Regions from separate parts of the Homo sapiens genome. Here all the other regions are linked to region 2. The links are contacts of gene promoters, found by promoter capture Hi-C in blood cells and fetal thymus (Javierre and others, 2016). All regions are on one chromosome and are shown on one strand. Each heading gives the region's core, a stretch centred on a gene start or on the middle of the fragment in contact. The rest is flanking DNA. Distances are from core to core; before and after follow the strand shown.

What was found. The method cuts DNA at HindIII sites, captures the fragments that hold promoters and counts their contacts. A CHiCAGO score of 5 or more calls a contact.
Region 1: a contact is called between the fragment with the promoter of NAA50 here and the fragment with the promoter of ZBTB20 in region 2, in 4 of 17 cell types (neutrophils, fetal thymus, monocytes and 1 more). The highest score is 14.9, in neutrophils.
Region 3: a fragment that was not itself captured here is called in contact with the fragment with the promoter of ZBTB20 in region 2 in 1 of 17 cell types (neutrophils); the score reaches 6.1 in neutrophils.
Region 4: a contact is called between the fragment with the promoter of SPICE1 here and the fragment with the promoter of ZBTB20 in region 2, in 1 of 17 cell types (neutrophils). The highest score is 5.6, in neutrophils.
Region 5: a fragment that was not itself captured here is called in contact with the fragment with the promoter of ZBTB20 in region 2 in 1 of 17 cell types (neutrophils); the score reaches 10.2 in neutrophils.
Region 6: a fragment that was not itself captured here is called in contact with the fragment with the promoter of ZBTB20 in region 2 in 1 of 17 cell types (neutrophils); the score reaches 9.5 in neutrophils.
Region 7: a contact is called between a fragment that was not itself captured here and the fragment with the promoter of ZBTB20 in region 2, in 1 of 17 cell types (neutrophils). The highest score is 8.5, in neutrophils.

Annotation. Positions count from the first base shown.
Region 1 is chr3:113,744,812-113,747,761 of GRCh38, reverse strand. It overlaps NAA50 (N-alpha-acetyltransferase 50, NatE catalytic subunit), which reads left to right and starts at 1,513. Exons shown (of 5, transcript NM_025146.4): 1 at 1,513-1,820. The coding sequence starts at 1,813. It overlaps ATP6V1A (ATPase H+ transporting V1 subunit A), which reads right to left and starts at 727. Exons shown (of 15, transcript NM_001690.4): 1 at 649-727. RefSeq lists enhancers at 770-1,139, 461-1,196, 1,197-1,932, 2,180-2,329, 1,933-2,669 and a silencer at 1,490-1,609. The HindIII fragment of the contact is 6,662 bases long and covers 159-2,950 here.
Region 2 is chr3:115,145,839-115,149,070 of GRCh38, reverse strand. ZBTB20 (zinc finger and BTB domain containing 20) reads left to right here and starts at 1,783. Exons shown (of 12, transcript NM_001348800.3): 1 at 1,783-1,852. RefSeq lists silencers at 788-1,007, 1,568-1,737, 2,048-2,317 and enhancers at 1,058-1,267, 2,998-3,107. The HindIII fragment of the contact is 9,545 bases long and covers 1-2,962 here.
Region 3 is chr3:113,806,065-113,809,217 of GRCh38, reverse strand. The region is part of intron 14 of ATP6V1A (ATPase H+ transporting V1 subunit A); the gene reads right to left. Among named protein-coding and RNA genes, the nearest start is that of GRAMD1C, 31 kb to the left of the region's middle. The HindIII fragment of the contact is 5,942 bases long and covers 1-3,153 here.
Region 4 is chr3:113,513,491-113,516,653 of GRCh38, reverse strand. SPICE1 (spindle and centriole associated protein 1) reads left to right here and starts at 1,498. Exons shown (of 18, transcript NM_144718.4): 1 at 1,498-1,757. It overlaps SPICE1-CFAP44 (SPICE1-CFAP44 readthrough (NMD candidate)), which reads left to right and starts at 1,498. Exons shown (of 52, transcript NR_183050.1): 1 at 1,498-1,757. RefSeq lists enhancers at 156-205, 266-315, 826-875, 1,582-1,631, 1,692-1,811. The HindIII fragment of the contact is 3,693 bases long and covers 1-2,642 here.
Region 5 is chr3:113,848,222-113,851,071 of GRCh38, reverse strand. All of the region lies in intron 2 of GRAMD1C (GRAM domain containing 1C), which reads right to left. It also overlaps the pseudogene RPS10P4. Among named protein-coding and RNA genes, the nearest start is that of GRAMD1C, 11 kb to the right of the region's middle. The HindIII fragment of the contact is 5,215 bases long and covers 1-2,850 here.
Region 6 is chr3:113,709,546-113,712,513 of GRCh38, reverse strand. No RefSeq gene overlaps it. Among named protein-coding and RNA genes, the nearest start is that of USF3, 14 kb to the right of the region's middle. The HindIII fragment of the contact is 3,661 bases long and covers 1-2,968 here.
Region 7 is chr3:113,728,614-113,731,452 of GRCh38, reverse strand. All of the region lies in intron 1 of NAA50 (N-alpha-acetyltransferase 50, NatE catalytic subunit), which reads left to right. Among named protein-coding and RNA genes, the nearest start is that of NAA50, 16 kb to the left of the region's middle. The HindIII fragment of the contact is 1,082 bases long and covers 978-2,059 here.

The DNA of each region.
Region 1 (2,950 bases), core at 264-2,763, 1.4 Mb after region 2:
TTCCTTCAACTGTCCTCTCTGCAGAGAAGAAAAAGTAAAAGCCCTTCTTTTACTTTTCTAGTCCCATCCGAAGCACGTGAACATCTACGGAACCTTCCCTGCAGGTATGTCAGATAAAATCCTTAGAATCACTGAGAAAGCACATTCGGAGGGAAGCTTCACAGTGACTCTGCAGTGAGGGCCGTATCAGTGACAGTCCCTCCCAAGCCTGTCTCACCGGAGACGCCTCTGCCTCCAGGGTTTTTGCTACCTCCCCGCTCCTCAGCCCTGAGCTGAGGGTAAGGACAGTGAGGACCTTTGCCAAAGAATGGGCTTTAAGGAATGGGACCTAATGTCTACTGCAGACCCTGTGAAATGGCTGAAACAATCTGCTACCCGAAGCCCCAAAGGCTCTGAGTAGGGAACCATAATGGCCGCACTCACTTCCAACCCTGGGAAAGGTGGACATCTGAATCCCCAAGTAGCGGGAACGACCACACTTGGGGGAGCGGGGGTTAAGGAGAAATGAGCTCCTTGCCGGTGCAGGGTGACAGCGGGGAGGAAGCCTCAGGCAGAAAAGTCGCCGTTCACACTCTCCCTTCTCTCCTTCCTCTGCCTCCTTCCACCCCCTCTATCCCCACCACTCGCCAGTTACCGGTCGCCGCTCACCTGCTGGGGCGCGAGGTGCAGAGACTGTACCGACCGAGGACCCAGAGGCTGTCACCACGGAGGGGAAGTCCTCAGCTGCACAGGTTGGGGGGGGGGGGGGGGGCGGGCCCAACCAGTCACATGACGTCGAGCTCCGCCCTGCCTCCTCCATCCCAGCGCTCTACATCTCGGGGGGCCTGAATTTTTACGGATCCCTTGAATATTAATTTTCTTGGATTAAAGAAATAAAAGATAAATTTTCACAAAGAGTATGTTATAAAGTACAATGTGGAAAATGTGGACAGCAAGAGTTAAAGCGCATTGCTAAGGAAGTGACGTTCACGCCACAATCGAGGGACAGGAAATGGCGGTGGCGTTCCGTCCCTCTGGAGTCCGCCGGTAAAATTCCAGGCTCTGAGGTTTGGGCCAATCACGTGATCTTAAAACTTGAGGCGTGCTGGAGGGTAGCCAATCTATCTGGCCGATTGTTAACTACGTTTGTTTTAAAACACCTAACTTAAACTTGAGCTTTCCACAGATTTCTTTACATTTAGAAGAACTAACTTTATAAAACCCTACTAGGAGGCAACAGCGTTTGAAGGTCACTCTGGAGACCACAAACTGGGAAGAACGGGGCTGAGAAAAACTATCTTGCGGATATGGGACAAGAGAGGGAGGGGTGGAAAAATCTGGATTTTACCGCCAGGGCCTACCGAGCCAGCCCCACAAGCAGTGTCGTAAGCGGGTGGGAGGGAGGAGCATGACCCCAGAAGGCCCAGTCCAGGAGAAAGATGGAGGTTCCGGAGTGGAGGGGGCAGGGTGCGCGGAGGCGAGCAGTGCGGCTGCGCGTGAGGCGGCGGCGCGCCGGCGCGCGAGGGGCGGGGTGAAAGGTCACAGCGCGGCAGCGGGTCTGGCTGGCGGCAGCGGCGGGAGGGAGCCGAGAGACCCGAGTGCACGTGTGGAGAAGCGGCGGCACAAGCGCGGCGGCGGGAGACACTCCCGCCCCCACCAGACTCAAGCCCTCACTCGACTCTCGCGGCCTTCGTTGCTCGCACAGCTCCCTGCCCAGGCTAGGAGGCCGGCTTGCGGGGTTGAGTGGCCCGAGCTAAGGGTGCGGAGACCTAAGGGCGGCGACTACGACGGCGTTGATATCGGTGGTAACGACGGCCTCAGCAGGCGGGGAAGATGAAAGGGTGAGGAAGGGCAGCCGGGCAGGGCCCGGCCGGTGGGGTAGAAGGGTCCGGGCCCATGTAGAGGGGGAGAGCCGCAAAGGCGAGGAGAGATTCAGGGCGAAGACGGGCGGAGGGAGATTTCTCTGCTTCTCAGTTCCCTCGGCTCCCGGAGGGGGCGGAGGCGAGGCTCGGGCTGTTGGCGGGCTGAAGGGCCAGCGGAGGCAAGACCCGGGGGGCTTCAGGGTTTCGGTTCGGAGACGAGTGTGGGTTGTTGAGTGGGGAGAAGCGACCGAGTGGGGCAACATGGAAAGGCTATTGTGAAGCGCCCGGGGCCTCCTTCCCGGGAGCGGACCGCTGAGCCACGCCGGCCCGCAGCTCCAGGTGGAGTGGTTTGGTTGTCTTCCACCTCCAGACTCAACTCTGGAACTGCGGTGTTTGACACCTTTCAGTTTAATTCACGCTTGGGAGCTGTGCAGAACCTTCTGGAGGAAGAAGAAATTGGAATAAAGAGCACGGGGATGAGTATTAAGAGCTAGTGACTCAACTAGATTTGGGTTGGGTCACAGCGAGTGGAGGAGGGGGAGAGAGCGCGATCACTGTAGACTTGGGGTGCCAACATATTTAAGGAAGTATAGGGTGGATCAGTAGGTGGAGCTGTTGCTTCAGTAGTTCACTATTGCCCCTGAGTGCTGAGGCGGTCCTGGGTAGTTCTACCACGCTGCTCCTTTCAGGTGATTGGCAAAGTTAATGTTCGGTCTTTCACCGTTTGCCTCTTACGTAAAATTAGGAATTATTTTGGATCGACTGGTTAAGTTTTTATGAAATGTCTCCTTACCATTAAGTTGTATAGTTTTAATGTATTAATTACGTAACATTTTTCCGAAGCATTGTCTCAAGCCGTTTTGGAGCTTGTCTTTACCCTCAAAGAGATGAAGCTCATAAACGTTAAAAAGCTCTCTGCGATGCCATAGTTTGTTGTTGTAAGTCGATTAAGAAGTCGTAACTATGTTTTAAGTTAACGAAGTCATTCCAACTATTCAATAGCACTTTTGAGGATGAAATAAAAGTCACTTTCAACGTAATCTCATACTGCCCCAAACAAGGACCTAAATATTACCTCTGTGTATCGGTATTTGAGGTTCCTGAAGAGA
Region 2 (3,232 bases), core at 534-3,033:
GTATTAATGAGGTCAAGGCCCTTACTTTTTTTTTTTTCACCAGGGCCAATTTATTTTGCTTAGTTTCTGTCAAAGACCTCTAACCAGGCATCTTATGTGAAAGCATGCTGTACGTTCCAAAGAAGCCTGGGTTAAAATCCAGATGACTTAAGTCTATTGGAAATTATACATCAAATCCATGTCCTAGAAACAATGTCATTTTCAAATCCCAAGTACAGTGTATTCTTTGCATGCATGGTATTTTTGATAAAGTCTCTTATTTTGTGACAAAATATTGCTATATCAGCTGCCTAAAAAAGTGCAACTTAGTTTGGCAGTAATTATTTTTTTTTCTTTGTATAGTGAAAAGCGATTTCCCCAACCCTCCCATCTTGGCCCTTGTAAGAAATCCTTTTTAGGAATCTATCCTGGGCTTCCTGCTGGACTTCAGCCTCATTTTTTTCTCCAATGCCTGAGTACTGGACCAATATTTGGTAAGAATTTGGCTCTGGGGAGTGCTATGTTGAATGACAAATGGTTGAGGACGAAGATTTTATTGAAGCATTTGAACCACACTTAATTTTCCGTGTTGCTTTATTTGTTCCTTTTACCACCCAGGATATTGAATTCTGTGGGCTCTGGTTGAGTCGTTGGTACTTCAGGCGTTCAGTAATAAGAAACATAATCTGCTTTTTCCGGCAGGATAATAAATCTCATTTATATTAAGGGAGGCTTACTCCAAACTCTTTTACATAGTATTTTTCTAAATCTTCTGCATGAACAAATTCTTCCTTGAGCCCTAGCACTGGGGACCCGGTCTGGCAACCTGCGCCCCATTCCGCGGGAATCAAGCGTGACCCGGTGCGGCCTTGCGCGCTGCCGCCAGCCAGACCCTCCCTCCGGCTTTCCCACCCACCGCCCGGGATCCAGCCTCCATCCCGCTGCCTCAGCTGTCCAAGACAGCGACACCCCCCTCTCCGCTCCCGCGGCTCCCCCGGCGCAGCTCGCCGCGCCAGACAGCGGGTAACCGCCGCCTCCGCTGGGGCATCCCGGCTCCACAGGCCCAGCGCGCTCCAGACACCTGCCTCTCACTGGCCACCGCCGCTGCCCCTCACCCCGCAGCCCTCTCGGCAATTGGCCCCAGGCCGCCGCTCGTCATCCTCAGCCTTCTCCTAGAGTACCGCCTCCGTCGCCGGGTCATTTAAGTTTATCACAAATAAATAAATAAAGGAGGAAATAGAAATGCGTAGAAAGTAAAAGCAGTAGGGGGTGGGGGAGATGGGGCGTGGAGGAAAAGGAGGGAGGAGCGGAGGAGTAAGCAACCTAACCTGATTGCGCCTGTGTCGACCAATCATGGCTCACTCCAGTCCGGTCTGACGGGCTCCCTGAACCAATAGCCTTCCACCTCCCGGATCACTGAACAACGAGATACGATTGACCTTTTCAGAAAGGGTGAAGGTGCGGCGGGGGGAGGGGGTTGTGGGGGTGGGCGAAGTGGAAGGATTGTCCACCAATCGCCTGTTAATACTTCTCTGAGCGAAGTTTCCGCGTCCCAATGGATGTTTGAGATAGCGGATTGGGCCTCTTTTAGCCCAATCGAAGGTGACAGAGATGAGGGAAGAGGAAGAAAGGGGCGGGGACGGGGGGGCGGAGGGGAGAAGGAAGAGTGCATTTTGTTTATGGGCGGCAACCTCACGAGGGGCGTCCCATTCTCATTGGCTCACTGAAGCCAAGATTGGCGTGAGAGCTATCCTATAGCGGGGAGAGATAGAGGGTTCGCGGAGTGAAGCGTCCAATGTGGGCCTTCTGCCGAAGAAGTAGGGGCGGGGGGAAGTTTAGGAGTTGAGGAAAGAAGATTAAAGAGCGCGAGGAGGTAATGCCACAAACTCTAATTTGTTGTGGGACGGGCGGGAGAGAGGGAGGAGTGTGTGCGTGCCGAGGGGGATGAGGCGTCTGCGAGGCGCCTGGAGTGGGGGGCGGCGGGACTGGGAAGGAGGGGAGCGGGGTGGGGTTGGGGGAGCGAGTTACAGAGCGGCGAGCCAGCGGGCCCTGAGCTGGATGAGCGCGCGCGCCCCCGCGCCCCGCCCCGCCCCGCCCCGCCCGCGCCCCCTCCCCCGGCGCCCTTCTTAGCGCCCGGCGGCTGCCTCGCCCGACCCGGCGGGGAGGTGGGAGGGAGGCGCGGGAGGGTCGAAGGGTGGCGGGGCGGGCGGGACGTCCCGCAGCTGGAAACGTGTCTTCTGCCTTCTTCTCTCTACTCCCTGCGCCTGGAGCCGCTGCTTCCAAGAAGAGGAGCTGAGGGGGACTAGCCGGGGCTCAGGAGCTGCTAGAGGCGCCCGCTTGTCTTCTGCCCCCTCCCTCCTCGCCCTCCCCCGCTTGCCGTGGCTCTCGCGGTCTCTGGAGCGTCTTCAGAGAACTGGGGGGCAGGAGGTGTCCTGGCCCCACAGCCGCTGGATGTCTCTCCAGACGCCGGAGCTCCCGGCCCCCGCCTGCTTCGCTTCTACGACTAGAGAGGAGGGGGCTTGGGAAGGGAAGACACACCTTTCCTTCTTTCTCTTCTTTGGGCCACTTCGGAAACATTAAAACATGTTAACACTTTTTGATTCCTGATATAAAAATGGTTGGAAGGTTCTTGAAAGTTTAAAACAAATGCCGTCTCTCGTACACTGTTTAATGTATTCCTGTCTGTGTGGCTTTTGGGTCCTCCCCCCACCCCCCGCCCCCAGCTGTTATCCTTTTTAAGGATGCTGAAGAGGCAGGAGGCAGGGATTTTCTAAAAGTTCTATTGATAAACACACTTGCACAAACATATGCTAGGCACACACACAAACTAAACATTAGCGAAAAACACAATATGGCGTACAGCTACGGTACCTAGCGCGGTAATCCGCTGATCTCTCACTCCGAACTGGGTTGAATGAGGTCAGTAGCAGGATGACAGCTCTCCAATGAAAATCTGAATGAATCAGGAAGTAGTTTGGAAGCTTGCGGGTGTAGTACTGTCCTCAGAATCAGCATTGGCCAAACCTAAGTTGAACATGTTACCTTTCTAGACATGTGAAAATCTTCTCCACTGTTTTTTCTATTAAAAATACCAAAAGGGTGCTAAAGTCAAGTTTCCTCACTGCGTGGCGGTGTATACATTTCAGCTAAAAAAATTATAGAGGCCATTCACCCAATGTTTTCAAGTGAACGCTATTCTGAAGTTACTGTTGTAACTTGTTGCCATTGAAAGTTTTAAAACACAATTACCATT
Region 3 (3,153 bases), core at 322-2,821, 1.3 Mb after region 2:
AGTGGCACGATCTTGGCTCACTGCAACCTCCACCTCCTGGCTTCAAGTGATTCTCCTGCCTCAGCCTCCCAAGTAGTTGGGATTACAGGCGCCCACCATCACGCCCAGCTAATTTTTTTTTTCATATTTTTAGTAGAGACAGGTTTCACCATGTTGGCCAGGCTGGTCTTGAACTCCTGATCTCAAGTGATCCACTTGCCTCGGCCTCCCAAAGTGCTGGGATTACAGGCGTGAGCCACTGCACCTGGCCCAGGTTACTCGTATTTTATATATTTTGAGTACTAGGTTTAGTGAGGGACACTGGTAAACCACAGGCAGGAGGTAAAACTATACTCATTTTCCCTTTTTCTTAAGGATACAAATCCAACCAAACAGAAAGAAAACAAAATTTTAATTTTGCATTTTGCCTGATAACCACATTCAGTGACCAAAGCCTTTATCCTCAACAATGTGCACAATAGTGGGAAATTATGCCGCTTCATATATTAGATGAACATGACTTAATGCATGATAATTAGGAATTAATTTAATCAAAACAGAATTTGCTCAACATCTGGTATTATCACACTGGGATGGAAAAGTAAAATTTAGGCAACTTACTGAGTAATATGTATAAAAGATAATTTAGCTAGGCTTGGTGGCTCACGCCTGTAATCCCAGCACTTTGGGGGGCCGAGGCAGGCGAGTCACAAGGTCGGGAGATTGAGACCATCCTGGCCAACATGGTGAAACCCTGTCTCTACTAAAAATACAAAAAAATTAGCTGGGCATGGTGGCGTGCACCTGTAGTCCCAGCTACTTGGGAGGCTGAGGCAGGAGACTCGCTTGAACCCAGGAGGCGGAGGTTGCAGTGAGCTGAGATCGCGTCACTGCACTCCAGCCTAGTGACAGAGTGACACTCTGTCTCAGAAAAAAAAAAAAAAAAAAAAAGAGACAGACTTTAAAATGTTCCAGGTCTCTAACCCAATCATTCCACTTCTGGGACTCCATACTAAGAAAATGCACAAAACCAACTACACACAACTACATGGTTGTCCACACCAATAACTGGAAATTTTCTTTTCTTTTCTTTGTTTTTTTTTTTTTTCAGACAGAGTTTTGCTCTTGTTGTCCAGGCTGGAGTGCAATGGTGTGATCTCAGCTCACCGCAACCTCCACCTCCCGGGCTTAAGTGATTCTCCTGCCTCAGCCTCCTGAGTAGCTGGGATTACAGGCATGCACCATCACGCCCAGCTAATTCTGTATTTTTAGTAGAGACGGGGTTTCTCCATGTTGGTCAGGCTGGTCTAGAACTGACCTCAGGTGATCCACCCGCCTCGGCCTGCCAAAGTGCTGGGATTACAGACGTGAGCCAATGCGCCCGGCCAACAACTGGAAATTTTCTAAGTGTCTAAGAATAGAAAAATATTACTCTCCAGCCACAAAACAATGCTACAGAAGAGTAATGACATTAAAAAATACCTGTGATGTTAATTTGACACAATAAGCATGTAAATAGAAATCATCATTACTACAGGTATATTTCTTCTTCATCCTCTTTCTATGAATATATAGTTTTTTAAGACAATATTTGGATCAAGTTACATATGGAAGTTTTTTCACTCTGTGCCATAAGCATTTCTCCATGTCTTTGAATATTTTTGACAAAAATGGTAATGCCTTCATAATATCTATCTTATGGACACACCATAATGTACTGTTGGCTCTGTTCATTCTTGGGTGACATTTAAGAAATTTGGTTTAGCGTAGTGGCTCATGTCTGTAATCCCAGCGCTTTGGGAGGCTGAGGCAGGCAGATCACCTGAGGTCAGGAGTTCAAGACCAGCCTGGCCAACATAGAGAAACCCCCGTCTCTACTAAAAATACAAAAATTAGCTGGGTGTGGTGAATGCACCTGTAATCCCAGCTACTTGGGAGGCTGAGGCAGGAAGAACTGCTTGAACCTGGGAGGGGGAGGTTGCAGTGGGCCAGGATCGTGCCACTGTACTCCAGCCTGGACAACAGAGCAAGACTCCATCTCAAAAAAAAAAAAAGAAAAAAAAAGAAAAAGAATTTAATAAACGACCGTGTATATCCGTATCAAAATTCTGATTACTTCCTTTGTTTATTTATCTCAAGGTGAAATGACAAGACTAAAAAGGTGTAAATGTTTTTAAACTCTCAATGTAGTGCTTACCTATTTGTACAGGTTTACTTTCAATCTATAGTGTGAACACACACACAAAATATATATATAATTTAAAAATTTTTATATTACATATACACTCAGAGAATCATTCTCAGTAGGTGGTTAGTAAATATGCCTGGATGTCATGACAGAAATAAATACAATTCAACTGATCAAATATTTTAAAAACAATCTTATACATTTGAGTTCCTACTAATAATTTCATTTAATTATCTATTTTTATCTTGTGTACTTCCAAAAGAACAAGAGGCCACTTAAAAGTTAAAAAATGGCTGGATGCGGTGGCTCACGCCTGTAATCCCAGCACTTCGGGAGGCCGAGGCGGGTAGATCACATGAGGTCAGGAGTTCAAGACCAGCCTGGACAACATGGTGAAACCCCGTCTCTACTAAAAATACAAAAAATTAGCTGGGCGTGGTGGCAGGCACCTGTAATCCCAGCTACTTGGGAGGCTGAGGCAGGAGAATCGCTTGAACCCAGGAGGTGGAGGTTGCAGTGAGCCGAGATTGTGCCACTGTACTCCACCCTGGATGACAGAGCAAGACTGTCTCAAAAAAAAAAAAAGTTAAAAAATGACCTGCAGTACATGATATTTAAAAGAAGTAAACAGAGAAGATGTCATTTCAGAAGAACACATGTGCTAGAGGTTAATAGGCACTTGGAGTAAGGCAACTGTTGCTCAGCTATGAAGTAAGCTCTAATTTGCCTGGCAACTAAGACAAAAGGGAATACACATCAGCATTTATTTTAGACGTGACATACTAATTTTTTTTGTTTTTTGAGACTGGGTCTCACTGTGTTGCCCAGGCTGGAGAGTAGTGGTGGGATCATGGCACACTGCAGCAGCCTTGACCTCAGCCTCCCAGATAGCTGAGACTACAGGTGTGTGCCCCACACCTGGCTAATCTTTTGTATTTTTTGTAGAGACGGGATTTCGACATGTTGCCCAGGCTGGTCTTGAACTC
Region 4 (3,163 bases), core at 249-2,748, 1.6 Mb after region 2:
TGGATGATTGTTGATTATTAAATATATCTACATCAAACTTCCTCAATCAGAGTGAAAACTATTAAAGGCAGTACCTTTCCTCTAGAAGGTTTTGGGCATGTATTTGCAGACCACACATGGGTGTATTGTAACAGCAGAAAGCAAGGGGCTAGAGGAAATTGTCTTACCAGAGCAAATAAACTCTGTTTTTGAATCAAGTGCTTTGTAAAGTTCTTAACGTGGTCCACGCAGCTCTGACTGTCGTGGATCCAGCCTATCAGGGCGCCTCCCCTTCACAGCAAGTTCCCACTGTTCTCTAAACTTCAGACACACTGGACCTCTTCCTGTCCCTTGCATTTTCCACATCTTTGCACATGCAGCTCCCTCTGCAGGAATGCTTTCCCCTTCCCCACTGGCCTATTCATGTCTGAGCTTTCCTGAGTAATTCAAATATTACTATAATAATAAGCTAAGTATTTGGTTAGAGTGCTTCCTTCTTAGCACTCGTCATAATTTTAATGTTTTTGTCATTGATAACTGTCTGTTAATATGCTGTAAGTTTCCCACCTTGCCTGTTTTTAGCCCCATAGAACCTAGCTCTCCCGCACATTTGTAGGTTGTAATAAACAACTTTTTTTTTTTTTTTTGAGACAAGGTCTTGCTTTGTCGTCCAGGCTGGAGTGAAGTGGTATGACTGTGGCTCACTACAGCTTTGCCCTCCTTGGCTCAAGCGATCCTCGCACCTCAGCTTCCTGAGTAGCTGGAACTACAGGCGTGTTCCCACGCCCAGCTAATTTTTTAATTTTTCGTAGAGACGGGGTTTCGCCATCTTGCCCATGCTTGTCTCAAACTCCTGAGCTTAAGCAATCCTTCTGCTTCTGTCTCCAAAAGTGCTGGGATTCCACTACTAAAGATTTGTAAACAAATGAATAGAGATGAAAGCAAATTAAGTGATATGTGAAGTCTGGTGAGGAGAGCAACATCTTTCTTTTGGAGAATTCTCGAGGCACCGGCTAATGCTATATGCCTATTCTTTTTTTTTTTTTTTTTTTTTTGAGACGGAGTCTCGCTCTTTCGCCCAGGCCGGACTGCAGTGGCGCCATGTCGGCTCACTGCAACCTCCACCTCCCAGGTTCACGCCATTCTCCTGCCTCAGCCTCCCGAGTAGCTGGGACTACAGGCGCCCGCCACCTGGCCCGGGTAATTTTTTGTATTTTTAGTAGAGACGGGGTTTCACCGTGTTAGCCAGGATGGTCTCGATCTCCTGACCTCGTGATCCGCCTGCCTCGGCCTCCCAAAGTGCTGGGATTACAGGCGTCAGCCACCGCGCCCGGCCTGCTATATACCTATTCTTTAATAATTTGCCCTGAACCTTGCAGAGGAACCTCTCTCCCTTAGACTCAGGACCCGAGATAGGCTTTGGGAGGCGCCTGCGCACTGGGCTCGCCGGATATACGCAAGGGCGTGGGGCGGAGCTCTGGTAACCCAGGCAACAGCCCGGAAGCCGCTGGCTGGGTTAACCTGTGGCGCGCTCCGCGGTTCCGGCGCCTGAAGTTTTAGCTGCGGTGGCGGCGGCAGTCGGGACCGACTGCAAGGCAGGTTGAGATGATGGATCTGAGGCTTGCAGCTCGCAGTCCCAACGAGCCTTAGGGACCAGGGCTACCAAAAGGGTGGGGAGAACGGTGGTGGCATCTGTCTGTTGCCTGGGATCCAGGCGCCCGGTTGGGGAATCCTTACTTCAGGAAGCGCAGCCGCGGCTCTGTGTTTTGAGAGTGCAAGTACGTGTCAGGGTGCGTGTCTGGGTATGTTTGTGCGTGGCGCCAGAGCACCTCGAGTATGCGCGTGCGCACCGCTTTCGGGAGCTTTTGCACAGAGCTGGTAATTGGGGGTGCTCGATTGTAGCGTTGGGGGAGTTCACCGTGTAGCAGGAGAGAGGCAAACTATCCAGGGTGCTTTGGGACCGGGAGCGTCATTTAAATCGATGGATGTCAGAGGGGCTTCTCAGAAGGCTCCTCCTGTGAGTTTTGAGGAGTCCGTGGAAGTTAACCCAGTAGAGAAGAGAGTGAGCCTAATGAGTGTTCCAAGCAGAGGGAAAAGAATGGTTGCAACTGTGTGTGAGGCGAGAGCTTGGTTTTAGGATTTGCGGGAGATGTGAGAGAACACTGGAAAGAAAAGTCAGCCGGGCCATATGGGGGAGAGGGTCTGAATGCCAAGCTGAGTTGGATTGCTTTTGACAGTGGGGAGCCATCCGAATCTAGAGGAAGTAGGTAAAGGGTTCAGATCTATTCTCTATCCATGTATTTAGGTAGGATTGATTCAACAGTGTTTGGAAAGAGTTCTTGTTTCTCTTTGATCAGTTTTCCACACCAGTCAGAGTGGATTTACTAAGTCCAGTCATAACTATCCCTTTTAAAATTCTTCAGTGGTTTCCTATGGTCTTAGGTGTTCAGATTGCTGTGGCTCACAAGACTACAATCTGCTGTCTGCCTTTCTTCCTTTAACCTCTCACCCTCTCAGATCTTTGTTAATTGAACTGAACTTCTCAAACTCTTCGTAAATGCATTTTCCCTTGCCTGGAATATTCTTTCCCCTGCTTCTAACTTTTATTCGTATTTTAGCTCTCAGTGCAAACATTTTTGGGGGTATTACAGAGAGGAGAAGCTTTTACTTACTGCATAGAGTTAGTTAGGTACTTTCATGGCACACAGAATTTACTTCCCATGCTGCCCTTTTGTTGTAAATACTTGTTTAATTGCGGTCCTCTTAGAAACTCTTAACTCTGCAAGGGCATAGACTATTCTACTTTCTTGTTATATCTGGTGCCTCGCTTTTAGATGGTGCTTCAAAATATTAGTTACATTAATAGATGGATGATGAAGTCAGTGAGTGAAGAGTGAAAGGGAGACTAATTAGAATAATGAGAGCCTGAACAAAAATATTTTTAGTAGAGATGGAGAAGAGCGGGCAAGAGAGATTTTTAGGGAAAAAGTTAATAGATTCTGTTATCTGATTCACTAAGAGATAAGGAACAGAGGTGATGCTGAGGTTTTAAATTGGAGCAACTAGGATTGTAATTCTGTAAATTCAGCTTAATTGAACATATTTATCGAGTCAACCAGTTATATATCAGCAAGTAGAGATTTGGGGTATGATGATGAGCTGTATTTTGATATACTGTATTTGT
Region 5 (2,850 bases), core at 137-2,636, 1.3 Mb after region 2:
CCAGCACTTTGGGAGGCCGAGGAGGGCAGATCACGAGGTCAGGAGATCAAGACCATCCTGGCTAACATGGTGAAACCCTGTCTCTACTAAAAATACAAAAAATTAGCCGGGCGTGGTGGCACGCGCCTGTAGTCCCAGCTACTTGGGAGGCTGGGGCAGGAGAATGGTGTGAACCCGGGGAAGCGGAGTTTGCAGTGAGCCAAGATCACACCACTGCACTCCTGCCTGGGTGACAGAGCAATACTCCATCTCAAAAAAAATAAAAATTAAAAAAATAAAAATAAAAAAAAAATTAAGTATATCCTTTCCAGCCTCAGCCCCGGACCCTACAGCAGCGGAGATGTTGATGCCTAAGAAGAACCGGATTGCCATTTATGAACTCCTTTTTAAGGAGGGAGTCATGGTGGCCAAGAAGGACGTCCACATGCCTAAGCACCCGAGCTGGCAGACAAGAATGTGCCCAACCTTCATGTCATGAAGGCCATGCAGTCTCTCAAGTCCTGAGGCTACGTGAAGGAACAGTTTGCCTGGAGACATTTCTACTGGTACCTTACCAATGAGGGCATCCAGTATCTCCATGATTATCTTCATCTGCCCCGGAGACTGTGCTGCCACCCTACGCTGCAGCCATCCAGAGACTGGCAGGCCTTGGCCTAAAGGTCTGGAGGGTGAGCGACCTGCAAGACTCACAAAAGGGGAAGCCGACAGAGATACCTACAGACGGAGTTTTGTGCCCCCTGGTGCCAACAAGAAAGTCGAGGCTGGGGCTGTGTCAGCAACCGAATTCCAGTTTAAAGGCAGATTTGGTCGTGGACGTGGTCAGCCACCTCAGTAAAACTGGAGAGTATTATTATTTTGCATTGAATAAACGTACAGCAAAAAAAAAAAGTAAGTATATACAATTGACAAATATTTTTAAAGATCTTAATGAATTATCAAAGCACAAAAGAATATTTAATATTAACTAGCTGGAGGGGCTCTAGGGAGGGAGTTGGGGGTTCAGCCCCCCGTCCGGCCAGCCGCCCCGTCCGGGAGGGAGGTGGGGGGTCAGCCCCCCGCCCGGCCAGCCACCCCGTCCGGGAGGGAGGTGGGGGGGTCAGCCCCCCGCCCGGTCAGCCGCCCCGTCCGGGAGGGAGGTGGGGGGGTCAGCCCCCCCGCCTGGCCAGCCGCCCCGTCCGGGAGGTGAGGGGCGCCTCTGCCCGGCCGCCCCTACTGGGAAGTGAGGAGCCCCTCTGCCAGGCCACCACCCCGTCTGGGAGGTGTACCCAACAGCTCATTGAGAACGGGCCATCATGACAATGGCGGTTTTGTGGAATAGAAAGGGGGGAAAGGTGGGGAAAAGATTGAGAAATCGGATGGTTGCCCTGTCTGTGTAGAAAGAAGTATACATGGGAGACTTCATTTTGTTCTGTACTAAGAAAAATTCTTCTGCCTTGGGATCCTGTTGATCTGTGACCTTACCCCCAACCCTGTGCTCTCTGAAACATGTGCTGTGTCCACTCAGGGTTGAATGGATTAAGGGCGGTGCAAGATGTGCTTTGTTAAACAGATGCTTGAAGGCAGCATGCTCGTTAAGAGTCATCACCACTCCCTAATCTCAAGTACCCAGGGACACAAACACTGCGGAAGGCTGCAGGGTCCTCTGCCTAGGAAAACCAGAGACCTTTGTTCACTTGTTTATCTGCTGAGCTTCCCTCCACTATTGTCCTATGACCCTGCCAAATCCCCCTCTGCGAGAAACACCCAAGAATGATCAATAAAAAATAAATAAATAAATAAATAAATAAATAAATAAATAAATAAAATATTAACTAGCTTATCCAAAGCACTATTACTTCTATTAAAAAATCCCAGGTAAGTATGTCATCTTCTGAACACACACAATGAACAATCTCAAAGGCTATTTTCTACTCCCAATAGTTGCTTACTCTATATCGCTAAAAGAATTTGCACTAAATAAATGCATATGTTGCAGATCTTTGTCTGCCTTGCCTCTGGGATCTTAATCCACATGGAATATACTATTACTCTAGCCAAGAAGAAAGTAAGTCTTTTGTTTTAAGAGTTTTTTGGTTGTTTGTTTGTTTTACATTTTGCTATATATTTTTTTACTAAGTTAATGGGCAAAAGCATAAATATTTGCCATTATTTTAAATTTCATTTCATCATTTCACATAATTTTTATTGTTTAATTAGGGTTTAAAAGGTAATAATAAAACTCATTTCTCACATACAGAATTAAATTTTTATTTTATCTTATTTTATTGAGACAGCGTCTCTCTCTGTCGCCTAGCCTGGAATGCAGTGGCATGATCACAGCGCACCATAACCTCAAATCCTGGACTCAAGCAATCCTTCCATGTCAGCCTCCCAAGTGGCTGGGACTACAGGTGCAAGCCACCACAGCCAGCTAATTTTTATTTTGTTTTGTTGAGATGGGGGTCTTACTATGTTGCTCAGGTTGGTCTCAAACTCCTGGCCTCAAGTGATCCTCCCACCTTGGCCTCCCAAAGTGTTGGGATTATAAGCATGAGCCACAATGTCTGGCCCAATATTTTAAAATAAAAAAAAAAACAAATACAACAACTAAGATTCCTATCTTTAAACTATAGAATTGAAATAAAAAATCTGAAAATCTTAAGCCATTGCTCACTATCAACAGCCATAGAGAGTTAATTCTTATTATTTAAATTAGTCTTACTGTCAGAAAGGCACTTATTAGCCAATCTGTTAAACAGCATGAGGTTACTACTGATTCAAGACAGACCAGTGTTGTAATACCATGACCCAATCTCTAATTTTATAGGTGAGGTAACTGAGGTGAGACAGGTTATGCAACATACTCAAGAT
Region 6 (2,968 bases), core at 165-2,664, 1.4 Mb after region 2:
ACACTACAGAACCTAGAATAAAAGGATAATCAATTCATCCAATACAACAACTTAGATGAAATGGACATATTTTTTGAAAGACAAATTACTAACGTTATTTAAGAGGAAAGTCTGAGGTTTGTAAAAGTTAGACAGTCACCATATGACTCAGCAACATATACATCAGAAATGTCCACATGATAACTTGTACATGAGTATTCATAGCATTCATAATAGCCAAAGGGTGAGAACAACCCAAGTGTCCATCAACTATATCCACAGAAAGAGCTATTGTTCGGTCATAATAGGTGAATTGTATGGTGTGCAACAATATCAGTAAAGCTGTTTTCATAAGAAAAAGAAATAGGAAACCTGAATAGTCTCGTATATATAAAGGAAATTGAATTTGTAGTTAAAATCCTCCCTACAAAGAAATCCCAGGCCCGATGGCCTCTTTTGTGAATTCTATCAAATATTTAAGGAAGATGTGATACCAATCCTACCTACTCCAAGAAAATAGAAAAGAATACTGCATAACTCATTTTATGAGGACAGCATTATACCAACACTAAAACCAGACAAAGACATTATAAGAAAACTATAGACCGATATCTCTCATGAATTATGACTGGAAAATCCTTAAGAAAGTATTAGCAGATCAAATCCAGCAATATATTAAAAGGATATATTATGATCAAATAGGATTAGTCTCAAGAATGAGAGGTTGATTTAACAATTGAAAACTAATTTGTGTAATTTATCATATTAACGATCTTTAAATTATTATCTCAATAGATGCAGGAAAAAGGTATTCAACAAAATTCAACACCCATTCATGATTTTTTAAGAGTTAGAACAATATAGGAATAAAAAGGAATTTATTTAATCTGAAAAAGTTATCTATAAGAGCTTTCACCATACTTGATGGTGAAAGACTGAATGCCTTACCACTAAGTTTGGGACGAAGGCAAGGATGGCTGCTCTCACCATTGCCATACAATATTGCAGTGGATTTCAGTAAGTGCAAAATTGTATATTAGACTAGCCAGTCCAATAAAACAAGAAAAGTATGCAGATTGTAACGAAGTAAAATGGTTTTATTTACAGATGATTAAGTAGAAAACATTAAGATTATCTTTTTTAAAAAAAAGCTACTAGAATTAATAAAGGAGTGTAGTAAGGTCACAAAATACAAACATCAGTTGTATTTCCAGCAATTAAAAAATTTGAAATGGAAAATTAATAATATAACAATGTAAAAAGATTTAGAGATACATTTAACAAAATATATGTAAGACATGTATACGAAAAGTTATAAAACACTGCTGGGAAACATTTTTAAAGATCCAAATAAATGCAGAAATATAACATGTTCATAAATCTCAAAACTCAATATTGTTGTCACTTGTCCTCATATCAAATTATATATATCTCAGTCAAAAACACTGAAGGCTTGTGTTTTCCTGTTTAAATTGATGAGCTTAGGTCTACATGGAAACGTGAAGAAAAGAGTTAATACGATTTATAAAAGGAAAACACAACTGGAGGACTTAACACTACTTGACTTTAAGACACATAAAGCTGCATAAAGACAGTGTGGTGTTGGTGTCAATGCCCACAAATATATCAATGGAATGGAATAAGAGTCCGAAAATGCATCAGTGAATATATGGTCACTTGATTTTTGTCCCAGATACAAACAATTCAGTGGAGGAAAGATAGTCTTTTCAACAACCAATGTTGGAAGAAATGGATTTTCCAATAAAATGTATAAACTTTGATCCACACCTCCACGATATGCAAAAATTAATTTAAAATACAGAATGAATCTAAATATAAAACTGAAAAGCATCTAGAAGAAAAAACATGAGAAAATCTGTGTGACCTTGTGTTAGTCAAAGATGTCTTAGTTATGACATCATAAGCATAATCCATAAAAGGAATAATTGATAAGTTGGATTTAAAATTACTACGTGAAAGATAAGAAAATGAAAATACAAACTGGGAACTGGGAAAAACCATTTGCATAGCATATATCTGAAAAAGGTTTTGTAATCAGAATATATAAAGAACCCTGGAAACTCAGTAAACAAAAAACAGCCCAGTAAAAATGGGCAAGACATTTGAACAACACTTCATCAATTCATATAAATGGCTAATAAGCACATGTAAAGATGTGCAGCATCATTAGTAAATAGGGAAATGCAAATTAAGGTCATAATGAAATATCATTATGTGCCTATTAGAATGATGAGAATTTAAATAGACTGATCATGGCCGAGCGCGGTGGCTCATACTTGTAATACCAGCACTTTGGGAGGCCAAGACAGGCAGATCTCTTGAGCCCAGGAGTTCAAGACTAGCCTGGGACGTGGTGAAACCCCATCTCTACTAAAAATACAAGAACTAGCCAGGCATAGTGGTGTACACCTGTAGTCCCAGCTACTCAGGAGGCTGAGGTGGGTGGATCACCTGAGCCCAGGAGTTTGCAGTGAGCCGTGATCACACCACTGCAATAAAGCCTGAGCAAGAGAGCAAGACCCAGTCTCAAAAAAAATAATAATAAGATGAAAATTATTAGACTGACCATATAAAGTGTCGCCAAGAATGTGGAAAAATTCAAACTCTTATATACTACTAGTGGGAATATAAAATAGTACCCAAACTTTGCAAAGCAGTTTGGCAGTTTTTTTAAAAACAGTAAATACAGGCTGGGCATGTTGGCTCCTACCTGTAATCTTAACACTGGGAGACTGAAGGAGGAGAATTACTTGGGTCCAGGAGTTGGAGAACAGCCTGGGCAACATAGCAAGTCTGTCTCTACAAAAAAAAAAAAAAAAAAAAAAAATCCAGGCATGGTGACATGCAACTGTAGTCCTAGTTACTTGGGAGGCTGAGGTAGGAGGATCTCTTGAGCACAGGAGTTCAAGGCTGCAATGAGCTATGATTGTGCCACTGCCCTCCAGTCTGGGCAACAGAACAAGACTCT
Region 7 (2,839 bases), core at 269-2,768, 1.4 Mb after region 2:
AATGAGGGGGATTTAAGAAAGAGGGAGTTCATACACCTAAATGTAAAATGTCTAGAGAAAACATAAAAATCTTTGTGATCTTGAGTTAGGCATATTTCTTGAATACAACTCAGAAATAAATCCATGAAATAAATTTGTCAAAATGTAAAACTTTCCCAAAAACAATAAGAAAATGAAAAAAGCCATAGACTGGTAAAAATTCTTTGCAACATACATAACTTACAAATGACAAGTATCCATAATACACCCAAAACTCAAGAAAAACCAGTTTTTAAAAAATTGACAAGAAATCTGAACTAATTAATTTATCAAAGATGATAACATGAATGGCAAAGAAATACATGAAAAGATGCTCACTTCATTTATTATTTAGGGGGATGCAAATTAAAAACCACAATAAATTGTCACTACATACCTGTTAGCATAAATTTTAAAAGTTAACAATGCCAAATGCTGATGAAGATTCAGAACAGTAGAACTCCTATACACTTAAGACCTAGCATTCCCACTCCTAGGTATTTACTAAGAGAAATAAGAACTTATGTTCATACCAAAACTTATATGTAAATGTTTATAGGAATTTTACTTGCAGTTACCTAAAATTGTAAACAACTGCTCTTCAACAAGAGGATAAATTTACAGTACATCCACATAATGGAATACCATTCAGCATTAACAAGGAATGAGCTATTGATATGCACAACACCGGGGTGAGTCTCAGACATTATGCTAAATGAAAGAAACCAAACAAGCAGCTATGTATTTTGTGATTCCATTTATGTGACATTCTTGAAAAGGCAAAACTTTGGGGAACAGAAAAGAGATTTGTGGCTGCTTGGGAGTTGAACTTTAAAGGGTCATGTGGGAGGTTTTGGGAGTAATTAAATTGTATATTTTGGTAATGGTTACATGATTATATGTATTTGTAAAAACTCAGAACTATACACCAAAAAGATGAATTTAATTTTATGTAAGCTTTAAAAAGTTTTTTTTTTTCTTTTTTTTTTCCGAAAGCCAAGGAATCAATCAAAACTGATGCCCATAAAAGGCAGGAAAATGAAGAACAGTTAATACTTGGTACAAATAGAAAATTGCAAGCTGATGGACTTGAATCAACTAAATCAGTAATTCAATAATTACATTAAATCTTTTTTTGAACAGTCTCACTCTGTCACTCAGGCTGGAGTGCAGTGGTGGCGATCTCGGCTCACTGCAACCTCTGCCCTTGGGTTCAAGCAATTCTCCTGCCTCAGCCTCTCAAGTAGCTGGGACTAAAGGCACGCGCCACCACACCTGGCTAATTTTTTGTATTTTTAGTAGAGACAGGGTTTCACCATGTTGGCCAGGCCAGTGTTGAACTCCTGGCTTCAAGTGATCCACCCGAGTCAGCCTTCCAAAGTGCTGGGATTGCAGGTGTGAGCCACTGTGCCTGGCCCATTAAATCTTAATGGACCAGATACTCCAATTGTCAGATTAAAAGAATAAGATCCAACTATATGCTATTTACACACACTTTAAATATAAGGACACAAGGAAAAGTAAAAAGAAAAAGGTAAAAGATAGAACATGAAACTTTGATTTGAAGGAAGCTGTAAAGCCAGGCCTGGTGGCTCATCCCTGTAATCCCAGCACTTTGGGAGGCTGAGGCAGGTGGATTGCTTGAGTTCAGGAGTTCAAGACCAGCCTGAGCAACATGGTGAAATCCTGTCTCTACCAAAAATACAAAAACAAAACAAAACAAAAATAGCTGAAAGTGGTGGCATGCATTTGAGGTCTCAGCTACTTGGAAGGCTGAGGCAGGAGGATCCCCTGAGCCCGTAGGCGGAGCTTGCAGCAAGCCAAGACTGTGCTACTGCACTCTAGCCTGGGCAACAGAGTTGAGACCCTCATCTCAAAAAAAAAAAAAGAAAGAAAGAAAACTGCGTATTAATGAACAAAGTAGACTTTAAAACAAGGAGTATTGCCAGCAAAAAGGATATTTCAAAATGATAAAAGCGTCAAATTATCAACAGTAGTCCTAAATATTTGTGCACTTTCTAATTTGAAAATACCTGAAGCTTTCTTTTATTGATTGAATGAAACAGCAGAAAGGAAGAAACACTTCCAAACTTTCTTTGAGGCCAAGATAACCCTGATAAGAAAACATATCAAGAATATTACAAGGGCTGGGTGCAGTGGCTCACGCCTATAATCCCAACACTTTGGGAGGCCAGGGTGGGCGAGCCTATCACTTGAGGCCATAATTTCAAGACCAGCCTGGCCAACATGGTGAAACCCCATCTCTACTAAAAATACAAAAATTAGTTAGGAGTGGTGGCACATGCTTGTAATGACAGCTGTTTAGGAGGCTGAGGCAGGAGGATTGCTTGAACCCAGGATGCGGAGGTTGCAATAAGCTGAGATTGCACCGCTACACTCCAGCCTGAGCAACAGAGGGAGACTCCGTCTCAAAAAAAAAAAAAAAGAAAAGGAAAAAAGTGTATCAAGAGTAAGCCTTTTTGAGATACCATGTGAACAAAGACTTGGAGTTAACATATACTGCAGCCAAGGATGGAGAGGCCATCAATTGACAGGAAAAACTGCAAGCAAAGCAGATTTTGGAACAAAGATTTGAAATTGTTTGCAGTATGTTCACTTTGAAGTGTCTGCTGGAGATTGCTTGGATCTAGGAATGTAGAGTTCAGGAGTGAACTATAGGCTAGAGACAGAAATTTGGAAATTGGCAGCATTAAAGCCACACAACTACAAGATTGAATGAGATCACCAAGAGAATAATTATAGAGAAGATAACCAAATGCGTCCATATACGAGGCCGTCATAAAATTGGTTCTTTTTCAGC